Linked DNA regions of Homo sapiens: region 1 is linked to region 2. The links are contacts of gene promoters, found by promoter capture Hi-C in blood cells and fetal thymus (Javierre and others, 2016). All regions are on one chromosome and are shown on one strand. Each heading gives the region's core, a stretch centred on a gene start or on the middle of the fragment in contact. The rest is flanking DNA. Distances are from core to core; before and after follow the strand shown. Region 1 overlaps DGKH (diacylglycerol kinase eta). Region 2 holds the start of RGCC (regulator of cell cycle).

Region 1 (5,058 bases), core at 500-2,999, 660 kb after region 2:
TGTACAGACACCCAAGAAAGCCTAACACAGCTTTCCTGGAATTTATATGACAAATGAATAAGGAAATATATAGGCCAAAGAAAAATTGTTTGAGAGGACACAATAGATAGTAGTTAGAAGAGACAGGAAAGAAGTGACACAAATAAAATGTAGAGTGTTGAAATCTCCCCTGATCCATCTCTCCCATGACGCCAAATTCCATTCCTTAGATGAGAAGTGGAGGTCATGCTGGGACATGACTGGTAGAAGCTAGAGGTTCTTCTGGAATTCTTGAAGGCATCTGTAAAAGACATGCATCCTCACTGACCTTTGCACTTTACACACCTGTTTAACACTCCTCTAAAAGCCAGCATCGCATATGAAAGTGTATACCTACTGGATAAATCAGGCAGTGCCTGATTTTTCAAGGATTCTTAGCTTTACAAAAGGCTCATCGAAGGGCTGTTTTTAAAGTTGCATTCTCCTTGGGGCATTAAAGTGGTTTTCCATCTAAGGAGCTTCCACTTGTGACACAGAGGCGTTTCTGAAAATTTAGGTGACATCCTGGAGCATCCATGTGTGTATATAATTTAAAAGAGAAATTACTTTTATTTTCTTTAAGCAAAGGGCATGAAATGAGCAATTCTGCAGCTTTAAGACATTGGACTAAAAACAGTTACAGAAAGCCAGCTATATAAAAATTTATTCAACTTGTAATGCTTTTATTTTTGGAAAACGATTTTTCAAAGTCAGGTTCATTGATCTTTTTGCTTTTAATTTTTTTAAACTAGGTTATTGGATTCCAGTTGGAGTCTATATGGCTTTACTGATTTTCCATGAGGGTCAGGTAGTACTAAACCATTAACTGCCAGATTATATGACTAAATGGCAGTTAATACAAATGTTTCTAAGCCCTTTTTGGGAGGAGGGGGGAGTTAATGCCTCATCCTAGAATTTGTGAACAAAGTAAAACTAAAACATACTTGCTTTTAACAGATTCTTAACCATAACTCTGATTATAACTATTTCTTATATTTGTTACTAACTTTGTTATTTTGGTTGAACATTAATATCGAATATAATAGCATGATTTTTAAAAAATGAATCTTTGTTTCTTCACTTGGTATACTCATTATTTTGAAATATTTGGAGCCACTTGCTTTTTTCTTAACCACACTTTGATTGTATGATTATATTTGCTAGAGCTGTTACAAATTAATCACTTTTTGGTTATGCTTGTTCTTTTATGAGAAGCGTCTGTTTAGCCGTACATAAACAGAAGTTTATTTTGAGGATTAACTTTCACGTGAATAACTGCCTCCCAGCTAAATCTTTTTAATCATATCTTTTAGAGGAAGGCAAGAATGTTTTTTCCTTTTCTTTTTTTTCTTCAAGAATTTAAAATTAGCTGTTTGTATATTGTAACATAGAGAGGTTTGTAGCTTCGTGAAGGCAAGGACTATATTTTATACATCTTTATATATACACCACAGCCTCACACATCACAGGAGATTAATACATGCTTATGTAAGATTTGAAGAATGTAATAATTCTATAGAAAAAACATAAATTATTTGCTTTGAAAATGACTCTATAAGGAACATCTCTAAATGCACAATATTCTCATAAAAAATCAGGATAGACATTTTCTGCCCCTCCAGAGGTATACCTTTGAGCGTTGTGTCCATTTTCATACACGTGAAAAGAAACAGCCTGAAATCTGCTGAACCCTGGAAACCATAAAGGCATTTCCGGCCAGGCGTGGTGGCTCACACCTGTAATCCCAGCACTTTGGGAGGCCGAGACAGGCGGATCACGAGGTCAGGAGATGGAGACCATCTTGGCTAACATGGTGAAACCCCGTCTCTACCAAAAAGACAAAAAATTAGCCGGGCGTGTTGGCGGGCGCCTGTAGTCCCAGCTACTCGGGAGGCTGAGGCAGGAGAATGGCATGAACCCGGGAGGCGGAGCTTGCAGTGAGCCCAGGTCGCACCACTGCACTCCAGCCTGGGCAAGAGAGAGAGACTCCGTCTCAAAAAAAAAAGCATTTCCAGCCTGTGTTTCTTGTTTACTCATTGATACCATTTCCCCTCAATCAGGGGCCCAGCGCTTTCCCGTTTTCTAATTTTTTGTCTTTGTTTTAAAATACACAGTTACCTTACATACCATTGTATACTGTTGGTAAAAGTTGTTTAGGTCAACTCAACCAACATTTATTTATGGAGGCCCTATGATGTGTTACCTAATGCCATGGATGGTGATGTTACAAAAATGGGTAGGTTGCTGTCTTTGCCCTCTTAAAGGCCGCGACCTGGTGGGACCATAAATATGTGGATGGACACTGTTCAGTGTCATAGGTGCTGTTACACAGACAGGATAAGGATGTATTAGAGACCCGAAGGTGGGAGTGGTGGCTTCTTCCTACCCCTACGGGGTCAAGGACGCCTTCCCAGGGCTAATGGTGCTGGATGAATGTTGAGATGAATAGATTTCAAGACAGACAAGTGGAGCAGAGGATATTTAGGGCAGAGGAAGGAGCTTAGGAGGGGTAGGCCACGCATTTGGAGGGCTGTGTAGGGGCCTTCTATGGTACATGTAGGAGCTTGGACTTTATGTAGCAGGCAGAAGAGAACTAATGAAGGGCTTGAAGCGGTGGCGTAATTTAACTAGATTTTCATTTTAGAAAATTACACGCAAAACCATGGGAGAATGAAGTAGGTTATTTACATTTCCTTAAAACAGTACTTTTAGAACATAAATAGACCAAACATTAACTTTTCTTCCCCATTGCCTTAAACAGAACTTTACAAAAATCCGAATACACCCACTTCTGCCATTTGAATTTCCAAATGATTTATTCTTTGGCCAAGATGTATTTTTATAGCACTTTAATGTTCTGTGTTTGGGTTTAGGAATTATGGGCTGCCTACCTTGGGTGACACCAGATGCTACGGTGATGCAGCTCATCATATAACTCTCCGGAATCCCCCTTGGCAGTGGCTGCAGGCTTCCCGTATTTCTCCTCAAAGCATCTTGAAATAGGACTGTATTGAATGGGCATGACTGGACTGCATATTTTAGGCATTTTCAGGAAAAGAAATAAAGAATTTGTATGTGAATGAATCTGAGCAAGCATCTGAAAGAAGAGGAATGGATTTAGAGTAACAAAAGACTAGCATGATGTCACATGACAAAGTTCAGAGACGCTCCTCTTAGCCGAGGTGGCTTCCCATGGTGTTACTGGTCATCTGCACTCTGGTCCAAAAAGCAGTCCTGTGGTCAGTGCTAGGCCATAAGTCTTCAGTTCTGAACACGGTGAGATGGCTCTTCCATGACATTCAGTGTAGTTTCTTTCTCCTTCTCTCACTAACTTTGTTAGACTAGAAGCTACATTATCCTCTTAAAAGTTTTTAGCTCTTATCCCAAGGACTTTCTGGGATATTTAAGAGTGTTGTAATCTCTTCTTTTTAAAAAAATTATTTACATTATGGTAAAAATTTTATAACAAAAATTTTATAACAGAATTTACTATCTTAATCATTTCTAAATGTGCATTTCAGTAGCTTTAAGTATATTCACATTGTTTTGCCATGTAATCTGTATGTTTTTAAATGAATACTTCATATTCCTTTCTCATCAAGTTAATGATTATTTAACATACTATCAAGTCTTGATTTTTATACCTCTTATTTTTTGCACATTCTCTTTTTAATCATAAATGCTGAATCAATGTTATTTTTTTGAAGAATAACTCTCTTAAATACTGATAATACAAACTTTGATACTTCCTTTCTACTGTGGTTATATTTTCCCCATATTATCTTTTGACCTCTCTCTATGGCAGTGTCCTTTTATGAGTCACAAGTGCACACTTTATGCAGCAGTGAACCATGAAACTGGATAGGACATTAAAGACTCTGAACCGTTGTTTGGTTATTTCAGGTTATTGAGGTGTGGGTGCTAATTGAGCTTTCCTAGTCTAAAGTGAAAATAATATGTTACCCAGAGGTTCCACATCTCCAATCTTGGTTTGAAAATAAACTAGGACTGAAAACATGGAATGAAAATATATTCTTTTGTGTTTTGAAGGAATGAATATTTGAATTCAAATTAATTTTTCTTAGGGTAAGCTTTTCATTTTTATAAAATAATGTTTAATCATCTTGGGAAGAACAACTATGTAGTATATCTTCAAAAATAAAATTTTCAAATTGAATAAATAAGTATATTTCAAACTTTCGAATTAGGAAATGCCTGTATATTTTAGGATTTGTTTGGTTATATAATTATTAACTACTGCTGAAAATGCAACAGAAAATTGGAACTCAAAATTTTTCAGTTATTGCTCTCTAACCTCAAGTAATATCAAATTACGCTGTTTCAAATGGTATAGGAGACCATTAAGCTAACTGAAGACAAAGTTTAAAAGAATTATTATTTGTTACCCATAACCATATTAAGGATATGATTTATTTAAAAAACAACAACCAAAAAACTAATCCAATTATTTAAAAAACAACCACCAAAACACTAATCCAATTTACTGTTATATGGAGGCTGTAATTTTTAGTTATGGTAGATCTCGAAAGTTCATGAACCCTCTAAAATTGTATGTAATTTTTAGTGTGTATATTGTGTGTGTATGTGCGCACATGCAGGCATGTTTCTGGAGAGATAGTATTCACAACTTTCAACAGATTCTGAAAAGGCATCTTGATCCAACCAAAGTTATGAACCACTGTCACAGAGGTTACTTTGCCCATTTTCCTTTTTACTTACAGACCCCAACCCACAACTAGATTTTGTTCCAGAAGTAGTTTGTTTATGAACTGGTTGTTTGGAACTTAGACCACATTTTTCTATGAAAGTAATAATATATATTATACACACACACACACACACACACACAACATGCGCACACACACACACACGCACACAAGACATTCCCTGACTTACAGTGGTTCAACTTAATAATTTTCCAATTTTCTGATATGAAAGCAGTATGAATTCAGTACAAAACGTACTTTGAGTTCTCATGCAACCATTCTGTTTTCACTTTCAGTGTGATATTCAATTACA
Region 2 (5,401 bases), core at 615-3,114:
AAACAATCAACCCCCGTGACTCTAAGTACATGTGCTCTCAATCCATCAAGACCCTTTCACGTGGAACCCCTTAAAGCTGTAAGCCCTTAAACGGGCCAGGAACTCTGTCTTCCTTCCGGGAGCTCGGCTCTTAAGACGCGAGTCTGCCGAAGCTCCCAGCGGAATAAAAAAAACTCTTCCTTCTTTAATCCGCTGTCTGAGGGGTTTTGTCCGCTGCTCATCCATGCTCCATTTCTTTGTTCCCTGACCGGGAATCGAACGCAGGCAGCAGCGGTGAGAGCACCGAATCCTAAGCACTAGACCACCAGGGGAACTTAGAACCTTGTGGGAAATAGATTGCGCACCATTAGAAGTGGGTTGGCCATCAGAAGGAAGCCTGGACAGGTCCCTTGTTTCTAAGGCGTGGCACAAGGTAACTGGTAAAGATACCTAGACCAGTTCCCATACATAGACACTTGGTGACAGCTGGTGCTAGAACCCCCACAGTGGCTGAGGGCATGCAGCAGCAATACTAGTAGCAAAGGGACAGATAGCTAAGGAAGGATCCCGCTCCACTCACCCAGGGAAATCAACTCCTGAAGTTCTGTTCGACCCCACATCAGAGGATCCATTGCAGGAGATGGCACCAGAGATCCCAGTGGTGTCCTCCCCTTAACAGGGAAAGAGGCTCCCCACTCTTGAGCCCACAGTGCTTGTGCCTCCACAAGACAAGCATATCCCTAGGCCACCCAGAGTAGACAAGAGAGGAGGACTATTCATATGATTAGTGGTCATTAACATATACTCCTTTGTGAGGTGTATGTTTCAATGTTTTGCTCATTTTTAATTTTTACCAGGTTGTCTATTTGTGATTACTTTGTAGATGGGTCTTTCTATATTCTGAAAACAAATCCTGGCTGGGTGCGGTGGCTCACGCCTGTAATCCCAGCACTTTGGGAGGCTGAGGTGGGCAGATCACCTGAGGTCGGGAGTTCGAGACCAGCCTGGCCAACATGGACAAACCCCGTCTCTGCTAAAAATACAAAAACTAGCTGGGAGTGGAGGCTGAATGTTTCACTCCGTTACATGTTAATTGCTCTACATTTAATTAGCCGTCTGTGGTGAGAGGCGAGAGGCTAGCGCCTAGCTCAGCGCACAGTCCAGGGCGTTCGCCCCCGCAGGCCGCGGGGCAGGGTGGCTCGTTACTCCGTGGACACTGCAAGGCGCCCTGTTCGCGCTGCGTCGACGCAGTAGTTTCTTCCCATAATAAACCCCTTCTAGATAAAGTCAGGCTGGCGGGAGCGCCCTGGACCGTAGTTCAGGCCCCCGCGCTCCGCGGTGGGAACAGTTCAGGACTCCCCCAACTCCTGCCCCTCTCGCCCCGACCCTCTCCACTCCGCCCGCCCACCATCTCGGAAGTCCCCTTGGGACAATGCGTAGGGGACCTCCGCGTCCCCGACACCCGACTGGGACACGGCCGCGGGCTCCTTCGTCCCTCACCGCCAGCCAGGGAGGCTCTGCATGCCCACGTCCACTTCACAGCCGAGGAAGCTGCGGCTCGCGGAGGTGCCTGGCACGCGGCGGGAAGCAGCAGAGCTCGCGCCCAGCAGTCAGCTCTGGTGACGCCGAGGACACCGCGTGGGCCGGGTTGTCAGGGCGCGGGGGCGAGAGGCGGGTAAATATTTGGGGCTGTAACCGGGGCTTCGGCGACTCCTCGTCACCGCGGTTCCAGGGCGGGCGCGTGGCGAGGGCGGTGCCTGGGGGCAGGGGCCTCCTCGGAGGGCGGCGGGGACAGACCCGTCGCCCCGGCTCCGCAGCCCCGCCCCGGCCCCGCCTCCGCTCCGGCCGCCGAAGGCTATAAGATCTAGGAACCCGAGCCGGTGGTAGGGCGGGCGCGGACCGTGCTGGGAGCGGCGCGGCTGGAGCGCAGCGCCGAAGGGACTGGCAGGGCTGAAGTGTGCGGGACAGCAAGCCCCCGAATAGCCCCGGCTGCCACCTCGCAGGACCCAAGGCCACGCGCGCCGGGCCCAGCTGAGCCGCCTCATGAAGCCGCCCGCGGCGCAGGGCAGCCCCGCGGCCGCCGCGGCCGCAGGTGAGTGCGGGGTCCGGGGTCCCCTTAAAGTCTCGGCTCTGCAGATGGCGGGTGAGAAAGGAGGGGCCCCGTGTCGTCCCTTCACACCCCCCACCCTTCCATCCTCCCCGGCGGGAACCTGTCCCCGGTCTTCCCGCGCGGGCGGCTGCAGCCTCCTTTCCGGCCCGGGCTGGCCCCCATGTCCCACCTTCCCTCCACCACCAGCTCCGCGCGCGCCCGGGGTTGGGGGGAGCGGCGGGGACAGGTAACCGGCAGCGCCTGGGGAGGAATCTGGCCGCGCCAAGTCGCTGGGTGACCCTGGGCCTGGCGAAGGCTCAGTTTTCTTGTCTGTAAAACGGACTTGGTAATAGAACGCACTTCGGGGGTGGTGGAGAAGATTACAAGGTAACAGCGACTGCGTGGCTGTCACTTGGCAGAGGCGCCAAGTGTCAGTTATCTTCGGGAACCGTGGCGGCCCCTCCTGGCCCTGGGAGGTGGTCCCGCTGCCCCCCTGACTTCCGTGCACTGAGCCCCTGGCCCTGCCCGCAGCCCCGGCCCTGGACTCGGCGGCCGCGGAGGACCTGTCGGACGCGCTGTGCGAGTTTGACGCGGTGCTGGCCGACTTCGCGTCGCCCTTCCACGAGCGCCACTTCCACTACGAGGAGCACCTGGAGCGCATGAAGCGGCGCAGCAGCGCCAGTGTCAGCGACAGCAGCGGCTTCAGCGACTCGGAGAGTAAGTGCGGCCCCCGCTAGGATGGCGCCGGGATCTCCCAGCTCCCAGGACCTGCCCCGCGAAGGCTGCGGCCTCAGTTTTCTTATCAGTAAACTGAGGAATGGTTTCCTGAAGCTCAACGCAGTAGGCCGAGTGGTGGCGGGGCCCCTGACGATAATCACGGGAAAGGTCGCTGGAGGGCAGGTTGGTTCACTTGCCGCCCACGGGTGTGTCACCAGGCAGGCGAGTTTAAGCAGCTTGTCCCGACTCAGCCAGACAGGACTCCCTGGACCTGCACCAGGCCTTTCCGCAGTTTCCCTCCTCTTCTCCTTTCCGTGCCTCTCCCCTCTCAGCTGTAACTTTGCAGATGTGGAACAAGTGCCAGTGGAATGAGGGGGCACAGTGGGGACATGGGAGGGCGCAGAACGGAAATATTCATGAAACCAGGAAAGGTTTCATAAGCCCAAACTGCTGTTCTTGGGATTTATGAAATAACTGCTTGCATTGTCTTCTGGCCCTTAGCTCTCAGACTTGTTGCTCCATTGCATGCAGTTATGAAAATCTTTGGCACTGCTGAGTTCAAGTATTTTTCAGCCAGGTCCTCCACCAGGCTGGAGGGGGAGCCAGAGAGCACATGGGCATGAAGGTGGTTCCTGGTGATCTTTCTCACAATGGAGACTACCCCAGGGTCTCTTTGTCCTGAACAACTTTGTCAACAACAGCAACAACAACAAAAACAACAAAAGAGACAGCTTTTTCCAGGAACTCACATGTCCTGGGAGGATTACAGGTACCTCAAACAGCAAATTAGGTGCCTTTTTAATATTACATGATTGTTGGTTTCAAATCCAGAATTGCTTATTGTTTTTCAAAGGGCAAAGTCAATTTTAAACTCTTCTGTGTTATTCTTCAGCCTTTAATCCTTAGATGGGTTACAGGCATGAATGTCACTCCTTTTGCTGCCCTTGACTCAGGACGTGAAAGTAATGGCCTTTCCGTGTGATTCTCTTATTTTGAAACCTGGAGCTCTTCCTTGTTCCTGGGCTAAGATTCGGGGCTAGACATGAACATGAGCTGCCCTTCTGCAAAGGGATAAATGCGCTCACCACCCTGGTCAGGGTTTGACTCAGGAAGCTGAGTTCCAGCTTGTTTCCTTGGCAGCACTGCCAAAGAGTTAGACCAAGCTGCAGCTTTTGAGGTGAAAGGGGATGGAAGAAAGTACTGTTACTTTTCCACTTAGAATTTTTGGACTTTGTTCTTAATGAATAGGTTCATTTTCAATTTCAAAGCAAAGTGTTAACATTTTTGAAATTTGTCTCAATTCTAAAGGCCAAACTTAAATATGTCTCCTCCTACTGGGGCATGGAGCAAGTTATTCATCAAATACAGATTCTCGCATGGAAAAGAAAGCTAGGATAGTGTGTCGCTGCTGCTCTGTGGCAAAGAACAGCTCCTTTCTAAGCAACAGCCTCACTCTACTAGAATAGGTCTGAGCGCGCCCATTCATGGCTGATTGCAACTTCCACTGGGTGGGATTTCAGATCTAGAATCTGTTTTCAGATGCCTTAAAGAGAAGACATAGAAACACATTCTTAACAGTTTCAGGGGAGATAGTTGGGATAGTTTGTAGTTTTGCTTAGGTTATATGTGTCTGTTTTCTGCTTTTGTTGTTAACGGACTAACCCTTAGTTTGGTGGTTAGAGAAGTGATGGGAAGAACATAAAGAAAGCTCAGATGACATTTGTCTTTGCTTTAAATGTGTAGTTTTTCTCTCACAAGGCTAGTCAGAAATATTGTTGGCAGAAGCTGTGTGTATCTAAATAGTAATTTCTTAAGGAAGCATAATATGTATATCTTAATTGCTGCCAAGAATTGAGTACAGACATTTGTTATCCTCGTTTGTCTGTTTAATGCTTTTCTATGGGAGAGAATGCTTAAGAGAGGTAGATACTACTGAAATTTAGCTCATCAAGAGGGAGACACACCAGGATAAGGATAATAACAGCAGCTCACTTTTAGCAAACGCTTGTTATGATGATGATGATGATTTATTAGCTGGAATGGGAACCATGTCTTCACGAATAGACTGAAGTCCTTTTGAGCCCAGATCACATGCCTGTTTGTCAATGATGGCTGTTTATGAAGGTGTCTCTTTGAGGTGGTGGTCATCTGGCAGGGTCAGTAGAGCTTAGATTGAGCCTTGTCAAGGCCCTGGGTGATGAGTGGGATTTAGTTTCTCTAGCTGTGAAATTGAAAGGATGCTATTTAATAGTGCTATTAGGGAGAAAATATTTGCTCTGTTGAATACTTTCAAAATATCATTACAATGTACATGCTGTGCTATACCATATAGATACATTGGAGCCAGTGTCTCGCATGAAAATATTTTGGATGAATATGTAAACCAATGTTACCTTTGTTTTTTGCTCTAGTTTTTACAGCTCTGTCTGAAGGTGCACCAACCTTACAAGGAAGATCAAACAGCAAGCCTGTTCTTTGAAGAATACTTCTTTATTATCATTAAAAAAAATTTAGGTTGCTTGCACCCAAAGGCAAAAAATAGCCATTCCTCGTACTGAAAGAAACAAGTTACTCAGATAGGAAAGAAGAACAGATATTTAATAAGGAAATATTCCT

The links. The method cuts DNA at HindIII sites, captures the fragments that hold promoters and counts their contacts. A CHiCAGO score of 5 or more calls a contact.
Region 1: a contact is called between a fragment that was not itself captured here and the fragment with the promoter of RGCC in region 2, in 1 of 17 cell types (erythroblasts). The highest score is 5.6, in erythroblasts.

What each region holds. Positions count from the first base shown.
Region 1 is chr13:42,116,204-42,121,261 of GRCh38, forward strand. The region is part of intron 1 of DGKH (diacylglycerol kinase eta); the gene reads left to right. Among named protein-coding and RNA genes, the nearest start is that of DGKH, 70 kb to the left of the region's middle. The HindIII fragment of the contact is 4,715 bases long and covers 1-4,107 here.
Region 2 is chr13:41,455,686-41,461,086 of GRCh38, forward strand. It overlaps RGCC (regulator of cell cycle), which reads left to right and starts at 1,865. Exons shown (of 5, transcript NM_014059.3): 1 at 1,865-2,071; 2 at 2,600-2,785. The coding sequence starts at 2,023. RefSeq lists a silencer at 1,638-2,477 and enhancers at 2,051-2,728, 2,778-2,907. The HindIII fragment of the contact is 26,753 bases long and covers 1-5,401 here.